Linked DNA regions of Homo sapiens: regions 1 and 3 are each linked to region 2. The links are contacts of gene promoters, found by promoter capture Hi-C in human tissues and cell types (Jung and others, 2019). All regions are on one chromosome and are shown on one strand. The core of a region is centred on a gene start or on the middle of the fragment in contact, and the rest is flanking DNA. Distances in the headings are between cores, read along the strand shown. Region 1 overlaps PCDH7 (protocadherin 7). Region 2 holds the start of PCDH7 (protocadherin 7). Region 3 overlaps PCDH7 (protocadherin 7).

Evidence for each region. The method cuts DNA at HindIII sites, captures the fragments that hold promoters and counts their contacts. A contact is called where the count stands out against the background at its distance.
Region 1: a fragment that was not itself captured here is called in contact with the fragment with the promoter of PCDH7 in region 2 in 1 of the 25 tissues and cell types used here (aorta).
Region 3: a contact is called between a fragment that was not itself captured here and the fragment with the promoter of PCDH7 in region 2, in 1 of the 25 tissues and cell types used here (hippocampus).

What each region holds. Positions count from the first base shown.
Region 1 is chr4:31,069,853-31,073,408 of GRCh38, reverse strand. The region is part of intron 2 of PCDH7 (protocadherin 7); the gene reads right to left. Among named protein-coding and RNA genes, the nearest start is that of LINC02497, 100 kb to the left of the region's middle. The HindIII fragment of the contact is 5,052 bases long and covers 1-3,556 here.
Region 2 is chr4:30,718,342-30,721,828 of GRCh38, reverse strand. It overlaps PCDH7 (protocadherin 7), which reads right to left and starts at 1,460. Exons shown (of 3, transcript NM_001173523.2): 1 at 1-1,460. The coding sequence starts at 406. LOC124900844 reads left to right here and starts at 2,708. Exons shown (of 1, transcript XM_047416545.1): 1 at 2,708-3,487. RefSeq lists an enhancer at 1-651. The HindIII fragment of the contact is 10,727 bases long and covers 1-3,487 here.
Region 3 is chr4:30,985,823-30,989,609 of GRCh38, reverse strand. The region is part of intron 2 of PCDH7 (protocadherin 7); the gene reads right to left. Among named protein-coding and RNA genes, the nearest start is that of LINC02497, 180 kb to the left of the region's middle. The HindIII fragment of the contact is 8,514 bases long and covers 1-3,787 here.

The sequences.
Region 1 (3,556 bases), core at 160-2,659, 350 kb before region 2:
CTTTGTAATGATTGACACATTATAATCTCTACTTGGTCTAAGATATCATCATAACTTAGAAGATATTAAATATCAGTGGGTTGAGTATACAGCAATCTATTTTGTTTATTTATGTGTGCTATAAATCAATGGTTCTAACATTCAAATAAGATCTTTTTGCTTCTCTGCTCAGATGCTTTCAATGATGTAATGCTATGTAGCAAATCTAATCCCCTAAGCACAGTAATCAAGGCCTTCTACCCCAAAAAACTATGCCCTTTTATACCTGTTTGCATTTACAAATACTTATTTCACTTGCTTTGACTGTTCATCTCACACTCTCCATCTACTATAATATTTACATACTCTTCAGGATCTAGGCCACATTCAGCTTCTCTGTTAATTTTTTCCTGATTCTCTCAAGTAGATTTAGCTGGGACATGTGTTTTACTTCCATGATATTCTGTGAAAGCTCCAACTTGAGAATTTATTATACTGCCTTTTGATTATCTGTTTTTCCTTCCATACTCCGCACTAAAGAATGACCCCTACACAGCTGCTATATTTTATTCATTTCTGAACGTTTTTCTAGTGTTACACTCACCCATTGATTTCATTGAGTTCTTACAACCCATTGCAGGAACTCCATGAACTCAATGAATGAGTGAATTAATGGGTGAATATGTCAGCCATCATTCCATTCTTATATTTGACACATTCCAATAATGTGATGTGAGTAATGTGATTGAGATAACACAACTCTGTGAAACGTTCTCGGACTTCTGGCCTTCATATCTTCATACATGGTGTTCCTCACTCTTAAAGTTGCCCCCTTCCACCAGCAACTCTACATGATCTTACACATCTTCCAATTTCTAAAATGGTGACTCCTCCAAGAAGCTTTTATTGGCACCTAGTTCAAAAGCCTGCTTCTTTCCTCTGTATTTATGCTCACATTGTCAATGCCTCCTTTTTTAAAAAAAATTATCTCTTTCCACATTATGTTTGCTTATATTAAAGCATAATTATTCATGCATGAGTCTTTACACATCTATACATTTACAGGCTCTTTAAGTGAGACATATATGATCTTATTTATACCACTCTCCTCTAGATATATGCATGACTACATATCTCAGGGTGATGCAACTGCAGTGCTCAACAGAATGACTGATGTAATTATAATTCTTTTCCTGTATGCATTTAAAAAAGATTTAACATATTATTTCTACCAAATATGATGAAACCCAGAAAAGCCCTTCATTGAATTGGTCATTTTTATTTGCCAAAATGATTGCCTTAGGGTTTCAATCAGTTCTATTTTTTTTCTTAGAGGTGTGCTAGTGTGCAGCCATGTGAGTGTTGTAGATCACTCCAACACTGTCTTCCAAAGAAAATTAACTTCATTACATGTCCAAGCTTAGAAAAGCGAAGACAGTAAACATGACTCATAGCTCTGATACTGGTTTAGTATAAGAGTAGTTATTTATACGAGCTAATATAAAAGTAATAGCAACTAAATAGTGTTCTCACCACCTTCAGAATAACCAGAAAAGCATGTATCCTGTCATTTGTATCTACCATTAATTAGAGAATTTCCTTAACACTGCAGGAAAAGCTTTCTCAATGCTGTATTCCTGAGTCTTTTTTGAAAAGAACAAAAGGAATAAACCTAAATGAAATGCGAGGGATCTCTGCCTGGGAGGATGATGGGAATATGATCTAACACAATCAGAGCAACCACTCTGCAGATGAACTATGGTGGGTGGGATAAATGCAATGAATTGAGCTTTCTCTGCTGACTTACCCCATTATTTTATCACTAATGAATTGATTTGCCAAACATCAAAAGCAAACAGAATAGAACTAAAATTTGCCTGCATTTACTAAAACCTTCAACTCTTTTCTGTAATTCCAAAGCATCATTATGATAGGGTGAGCTTGTCAAATATATGTTCAACGTTATTCAGTTTATGAAAGGCTGCCCCCTCTCCTGCAAAAAAAGCACACAACATTTCAACCAAAGATTTTTTTCTTAATTAAACACTGATTTTCTTTCATATGGATACAAAATAAATAAGCTTGTTTGTAAACAACAGACACACATGTACACAGTAAACATGATAGAATGACAAAAATATAGCTGTACAGAGACTATGGGTTTTTGGGTTTTGGGAGAATAACAGCCTCACGGTGAGTTAATACTAGGCATTCCCTCTATATATTTTTTCTCCACCAGAGAGTTTTAAAAAAGAATCTATTAAAGACTATTCTACCTGTGAATGAGCTTTGAATTACCTTTGCTTCTGTCAAAGACCATTTATCAACTTGACAGTGTCAGTCTCTAAAAGCAAATAAGGGCAAGAAGGGGCCCTGCACTCTTGCCTTGGCAGAATTAAGCTTTTTTCCACAAGGGAAAGGCATCCTAGAGACAGCTGTAGTATTTTATACAAACTCAGCTAAACACTGCATAATGTCTTTTTTGGATGGCCCTGTATAAATTGTGTTTGATATAATTCTGAATGCCACTACTTTGCAGCACTGCATTAACAAATACCTATATTTGTTCATCTTCATGAATCTAACATACTAAGTTGTAGAATATAAAAGTCTGGGACAAAAATTAATAAAACTTCCTCTATTTTCTACAAAGTGACTTCTGATAATGTATTCTTTTGATTGTTTTTATGAATGTTGTTATAGTCTTTGCAAAGTAACCTAAATATATAAAACAATTCTATATTTGGGAAGAAATATTTCCATAGGCTACAGTAATTTAAAAAATATGATTAGGTCTGAGTAAGTCTAATACAGTAATCATTTTGTTAACACAACTTATATATTTAGAGAATGGTTTGCTTGAGCAAATGTCTGCATATAAACATTCAGCATCTAGACACAAATGTCTGTGTTTTATTAGCCAATGTCCTTGAGAACATATCTATGTAACTTGAGCAACTCCCTTTTACTAATGGAGTAGAACATTCTAGAGGGAATTCTATTAAACAAAAAGTCAGTCGTATTATTGGATCTTGCTGGATCAGTGATGCTAAAAACATTACCCAGCCAAGTCTGAAAAGTATTCATTGTCAGATGTCCGTCTAAATAATTATGCCCATTTTGTTTCAGTGAAATATCTCAAAAATTACACTGTTGAATGAGCCTGTGTATTTGTCAATCGATAAATCCTACTATAGGTAAAGTGAACATTTGAGAATATCTAAGGTGGAAATATGAAGAATTTATTCTCGTACACACATGCATATTTCATATTTTTCTAGAATTTACTTTGTATCAATTCAGCATTCAATGGAAAGGAAAATTCACTTTAGGCACGGAATACATTTACTGTTTAAAATTAAGTGTGAGTAGATCAATCATTCACAGATTGAATACAAGACAAGTTACCTTCTCAGTTAATCTAAAGATCTCAATAATGCACTCAAAGTATTTGGGCTGTGAAAGATTGTTGCACAATATGTCAGCTTTTAAAAGGGTCAAACTTCAGGAATTCAACTTAGAGCTGATCTGTTGAGAGAACCATCAAATGAATCAAGTGGAGAAAATTTGAGATTAA
Region 2 (3,487 bases), core at 211-2,710:
TGTCAAGCACGATGACCTGACCCTCAAACAGGTCCACCCAGCTCTGCGAGGGCCCGATCACCGACACCTCGAAGTCCAGGAAGCACTCGTTCTCGTCGAAGATCATCTGACACTGGGGCAGCTTCTCGCGGTCGATGCGCCGCTCGCTCGTGCTCAGCTCGCCAGTGAGGTTGTCGATCTTCAGGTACTCGGAACCGGACTCCAGGCTGAAAGTCACCTCACCCGATCCGGTCACGATGCCCAGGTCTGAAGCCACGTTGCCGATGCGGACGTCGGCGGGGCCCTCCTCGGCCAGCCGGTACCGGAGGAGCTGCTTGGCGGCCGCCAGGCTGAGCGAGAGCGGCAGGAGGAGGCAGCAGCCCAAGCACCAGCCGCGCGCCCATCCCGCGGTCCGCATCCTCAGCATCTTCTCCTGCTGCTGCTGCTACTGCTCCTTCTAACCACAGCCCCCTCGGCGCCCCCCTCCTCCGGGGCCGGCCGCCTGCCCTCCCCCGAGTCCTCTCCCCTCTCCCGGAAAGGAAGGAGCGAGAGGGAGGGGAGGGAGGGGGCAAAAGCGGCGTGGAGAGTTGGCCGGGAATGGGGGTGGGAGGGCAGCGATAGATGCTTCTTTTTTTCCTCCTGCTTCTTCCGAAAGTTATTGTTTCATAATTCATGCAATGGGTGCTAATCGCCCGCTCGCCTGCCGCCGTTCAGTCGCAGTACTCACAGTTCACGGGACACTGCGCGCCGCGGGTTCGGCGCTCCCCCAACCCAGAGTCATCCCCTCAGCGGGCGGAGAATCCCCGGCTCTAGTCCCCGCTCTGTCGGAAGGGGCCAGAACCGCTCCGGCAGACGGGCAGTGGGGCTGGGAAGAGGTGGGGAATGAGCCTGCAGCCTCCCCCGCCTGCCAGCCCGCTGGTCTTTGCTGCTACTCGAGTTGAGTCCAATTCACGTTCCAGGCACTCACTCCAAACCCAGGCTCTGCTCCGGCTCCGGCCACCCAGACAAACGTGAGTCGCTTCCTGCACCAGGCGCTGGGGCCAGCAACAAGCCAGTCTCAACTCCGACTCTGCTCATGCAGCGGGGGAGCCAGTCAACAGATCGAGAATGAAAAATCCCCCGGCACGTCGCTTCGGGCACGGTGCAGGGGAGACTACTCGCGTCACAGAGCGGTCAGTGTCAGGGTCCCCCCGGCGCGCCAAAGAGAAGCCCGAGCCATCTTCAGAGACGCCCAGAGTCAGTCCCTTCTCACCCCGGAGAGCGCGGGTTTCTCTTTTTTCTTAACAACTCTGCGCAAGGTCATTAGTCACGAAGCAGCCGCCTGAAACCGCAGCAGCCTTTCGCCCACGGGGGCGAAGGCTGAGCAGTGCGCACCGTGCGGTGCCCAAGTTTGGGTTCGCAGCCGCAGAGTCCGTGCCTTTTCTCACCTGCATTCGGCCCGCATGTCGGAGCAGTGGGATCTGCAGCGCTGTGCGCGATTCAGGGAGGAGATTGCAGCCTCTCTCTCCCCGCTCTCTCTCGATCCCTCCCCTCCCTCCCTCCCTTTCTCTCTCCTCCCTCCTCTCTCTCCTCCCTCCTCTCCTTTCCCCTTTCCCCCTCTCCCACTCGCTCTCTTGCACGCTCTCTCTCCTTCCCAATGCAGGGAACTCAAGCTGAACTTGATCCCTTTGCAGTTCAAAGGTGAGCAAACCAGGCTCGGAGCACAGGCGACGTTAGCCGGCGAAAGCGCACGGCCGGGCGTCCCCAACGGCAATTAACAAAGATGCCCAATTCTGTCTGGATTTCCGAAGAAAAGCCAAAGGCTTTCGGGCGGGGGTGGAGGGGGAGGTGGAGTCAGAGACAGCTGCCAAGTAGCTTAAAAAAAAAAATCCAGTTTGCCAAGGGGAGAAAAAGTGTCAGTCGGTTGTGGCCTCGGAAGTGCCCTGGCACGGCTGGTGAATTCCGCAGTTGTCTCGTCCCTTTTCGCGTCTGGGAGAGTCTGGTGCGGGCGCTCCCGCCGCCCCTCGGGCTGCAGCGGCTCGGAGACACTGAACCGCTAGTGGGAATCTCCCGTTCGCTACCCGCGAGCAGGAAACCCGCAAGTTGCCCAAAGTGGTGGTTGCTGCTGGGTGCTCGCTCGCTCACGGATCAGGCTTGTCCCTGACGCTGCTGCTGCAGCGGCGGCGGCAGTAGCAGCCGAGCCGCCGAAACTACACACTAGGAGAGAGCGAGGGAGGAGGGCCCGGGATAAGGAGGCGGGAGGGAGCGTCAGCCAGCCGCCGCGCTCGGGAAAGCCCAGCCTCAGCTCCAGGGGCCGCTCAAAGTGTGCCCAATCCCAGCCAGTCCTCTTTAAGCCAAAGCCCAGTCCCCCTCCCTAGCGAGTACCGCCGTCTTCTCTGGGGGACTTGTTTTCCCTCCCTCGGGCTGGTAAATTTCCTCCTCCCTTGACTAATGCCCAGTTCACGCGTGAGAGCTTTCGGAGCTGGTGTCAGGATAGGTTTCTCCTTCTCCCTCCCTCTCAGACGACGTCCTCCTCCCCCCGGAAAGTGTCTCCGGTTCGCGATTTAGGATCTTGGTTAGGACATGGTTATCGGGGTCCTGGGGAACCTACGAGCGCCCAGAAAGCCACTCTGTTCTGAAAAACCATGACGGGCTGCAGTAGTGAAGAGAGAACATCAAACTCCAGAGAGCTGGAGAAAGATCCTTTTTTGGGAGCTCAGACTTTGGATGGTTGCGGGGGGCAGGGGCGGCGGTGGGTGGAGGGTGAAGGATGTCTGTCTTTGTTTAAATGCTTGACATTCCTGTCGTCGTGCTTGCTTGCGGGGGTAGACCGTGTGTGCGCGCCTGGGGAATAAACACATGTTGGAAACCTCGATATTATTTTCTGAGCAGAAACCTGCAGCCTTTAGTAACTGGCAAAGTGTAGCGTCACCTATCTGGATAAAAGGGAAATAAACTTTAATGGCAACTTTGTGTACCAAAGTGTCCCCAGCTTTCCCATCTCTCCTTTTGACTTTGTGTCCCTTGACTGTCCCTATTTCCTGAAGCAAGGCTTCTCCAATTTTCATTCACGACCACCGCAGCCGGCCTCATCAGATCTCAGGTCTGGTTGTGTTTTTGAACTGAGCCATTTACTCATTTATTTCAGTGGCTGTAAACGAAGAGGCCCGGCTAGGATTAAGACGACTGAGACGGACTGTAGGTATTTGGGGAGAATTTTTACCATCTCGAAAGAGAGAAAGGGCCGCTGCTGGGATTTGCTTAGTCTTCAGCTCGCCTGACGTATCCATACACATTTAAGGGCCTCCCCTCAAAGAAAAATTTAAAGCCGAAAAAATAAAATCTGTCCAGTGTGGGTATTCTTTACGAGACCTGGGTGACGAGGCAGAATGATTTAAACAAGACAAACACCAATAAAGTCAACGAGCAGATGTAGCGCGCGGTTGTTTGGGCGGGCGCAGGAACAGGAATGAGGAGGGAGAGGCGGCAGAGATTTCCAAGCTCTCCCTACAGGGGATCGTAGATGCCC
Region 3 (3,787 bases), core at 362-2,861, 270 kb before region 2:
GGTTCTGTGCCTCTACTTTGTAAGTACTGCCCATTCTTTTAGTACCTGCAGTTCCTTGGAATGGTGCGGCACCTGTAAAAGGTTAATGAGCATAGAGACTTTCAGGCATAATGCAAATTACAGACACTACACAGACATTTCATCAAGAAACAGACAAGCAACATGCACGCTGCAGGCACACTACAGGTGGCCGATATTACTGCAGCTCCATCACTGGGATATCTTACAGATTATATAGCTATATGTACTAGTGAGATGTATATATTTGGAGAGATACCATTCATAAGTACTATTTAAAAAGAGAAAGAGAAAAAATTGTTTTTCAACAGGTTTTAGGAGTACCTATCTTAGCTTGTTTTGCAGTCAGATATTTACACCATTCTTGTGACAGATCATGAGAAATCTCTTCAACTTTATCAAATAAATCAAATAATCTAAGAAACAAGTTTCTGGAAAAAAAAAACTGTGATTTGATTCTGTCCAAAAAGTTTTGCATTCACAATTCAGGCACCTTGTCTTCACATAAAACATTTTTAATGCTAAAAATAAATTGTGGTCTAAATCATCTACAACAAATATTTTAAGTAGATTTGAAGTCTCTGACCTGTTAAAAAGGAAGGTGAGGACTTTTTGATGAACTTTCAATTAAAAAAGAGAAATCAAGCTGTCAGTTTTTCTAAAAATCTTGAATGATTTGCCTTCAAAATCACATTCATTGTTCTATAAGAATCATCAGGCATTAATGTACATGCATTAATACTACCATCATTGCACAGGGCCTGCAAAGAAAGAGTTCTTCCATTCCCAGTTTCATTTAAAAAATAATCTCTTGTTATTTTTGTAACACTAAACACTAATACAAAAGTAATCAAATTAGCATTAGCAGTTCATGTTGCAAACTTCAATTTGTATTGCTACAACATCAAAGTAAAAATATTTGCATATCAAAAGTAAAAGAGGTGGGATTTAAATTGATTTAGTGTCTTAAACAAAACTAACTCGGCCTTGATGATAACTTAAATGATAAATAGTTCACAAATATAGAAATTGAATATATTTATATTTCTTGTTTCAACAATCCAAGGCCTGTGTACTAAATGCTAATGAAATATGAATATTAGAAAAAATGGAATATGACAGTGCATATGGAAAATGTTGGGCTTCTCATAAACTGAGAATTCTGTTTAATTCAGACTATAGTGTTTACAACTGTTTATAACTAAGAGTATGTAGGTGACTATTCTGTCTACCCATCTATCTAACTAATATATTACAATATTCTGAGTCTAATTATTCTCAGTAATTCATCATACAGAAAAATGTAATGGAGTTGATACACTTGTGGGCAGAAACATGCCAAAATAATGTGTTTTCTGCAGTATGCATCCCTCATTTCCTATCACATGGTACTATCGTGCAGTTTCTGCCTACCATGATGTCTAACGTTTTCATATTCCTTTCTCACGTGGTGATTCAGATGGCCAAACTGAATAAAACACACAATTTTTACAAATGAGTATTTTTATGCAACTCATGTCTGTGTGCTTTCTAGGGAACAGCATGTTTTCACAGATGCAAATCTGGCCTTTAAAATAACTTATATTCTTGCCTTAGCTCAGTCTCATCTTGACAGTGACCTGGTGAGTGACCACCATTTGCAGTACAATACCCTCCCTAGAAATTAAATGTCCCCTAATATACTTCTAGGGTTCTTTCCTCCTTGGCACACACTCCTAAATTGCCCTAATAAGAAAAGTATTTCTTAGGTTTCATTAGTATGACTATGCACCAATATTTTATTTCGTTGTTTCATATTCCAACTAATATTTAAAAATAAAAATATTCTTATGGTACTATTATGTCTCAAAATATTTCCAAAAATATATCAGAAATAAATGTATTCACATTTATTTTAATTCTATATAGGCCCCTAGAAAAAAGAAAACTGATTTTTTTTGGAGATAAGTTCTCACTATGTTCCCCAGGCTGGACTAGAACTTCTGGATTCAAGCGTTCCTCCTGCCTCAGCCACCTGAGAAGCAGAGAATACAGGTGAGAAAAATACTATTATACAAGCCATTTTCATGATTTAAAATTATGTAAAATAATTCAAGAATTACTAATGGCAAAACTTCCCAGAGATACTATGAATAATATCCACCTCATTTTATAGCTATTAAATGAGGTTCATGGAGCCAACTTGACGTCTGTACTTAGAAGCTTTTGAGGCAGTCGCTGGGTGTCCTTACAAAAAAGACATACCAGTAATATGTAAATAAGAAAAAAAAAAGATTTTCAAGTAAAAACCTGGTATAAAATAGATATGGATTATTACTTTTTCCTAACCTTCTTACTTAGGTGATCTGTAAATTAATTACATGATATACTTGGATTAAGTTTTGTTTTTGTTGTTGTTTGTTTAATTTTAAGAAGATTTTGGAGTAGTGTAGAAGAATAATATGTATTAGCTTTCTCATCATAAAATCATAAAGGAATGGACTAGAAAAAGGACCAATTTCTCTAATTTATGATCTATGAATACTGTGATTTCCCTGTAGGTGTAAAATGTCACACTGTATTGTAGAATGTTATGCCCAAAGATAAAGATACTATCTTTCTTATTTTTTTTTGAGACGGAATCTCGCTCTGTCGTCAGGCTGGAGTGCAGTGGCGTGATCTCGGCTCACTGCAACCTCCGCCTCCCAGGTTCAAGTGATTCTTCTGCCTCAGCCTCCTGAGTAGCTGGGACTACAGGCGCCCACCACCACACTCAGCTAATTTTTGTATTTTTAGTAGAGACGGGATGTCACCATGTTGACCAGGATCGTCTCAATCTCTTGACTTCGTGATCCGCCCACCTCGGCCTCCCAAAGTGCTGGGATTACAGGCATGAGCCACCGCGACCGGCCAATAAAGACATTTTCAAACGGATTCTGATTATAATAAAACAGTTTTAAATTTCAGATAAGAAAAATCAAATTGTGCAAAGATCACCTTTGTCATTGTTCAACCATTTCTTCATAATGATATTATAAGGTCATTAGACTTTTCTTGGTGGGAGGAGGTGAAACCAGGATTATCTACACGTCTCTGACTGGTTTGGCTTTTCAGATTTGCTACAATATCTATATAATAGTGAATCATTTTATGCTTATGTAGAAATAGGTGGGTTTTTTCCTTGTTTGTTTGTTTTTTGCTTTTCTGTGTGCTTTTAAGAAAGGCACTCATAGCTACAAACCATCTTCATGGGAAATAATTATTCTCAGGAGAAAATAGACTAATTTTTTTTAAAAGACTAAAAATGACCTCTTGGGAAGAAAGGACAGACCTGAATATTAATGTCATCAGCAGTTATCATTTAGTAGGCAAGGAGAAATCAATTGCAGGCCAAAAGAAACTGTAAGTTAGATGTCTCAGACTCCATACTAGAAGGAAAATTTCAACTTTTAAAGAAGAATTCCATATGCAGATTAATTTTTCTTGGTTTTAGAAAGAATTGAAAATGCATATCTCAAGTCTTTTAACTATTTCAGGTAAAAATTATCCTGCTTTTCAAGGTGATTCTTACAAAAGACTAAGCTTTGAATTTAAAAAGTCACAATAATTATGATAGTCTTGGGGTGTAACACACCATTGTTGTTACAGGGTCAGAGGATGGTAGTGCATCTATTTTGTTGTTGTTATTGTTGTTATTTTAAATCTAAATAAACCAAAAGAGATAAAATTTGATGAAAAGACAATGGAATATTTAAAATTATCTAGCTCAAACCCTTCTTTTTGCCAATTA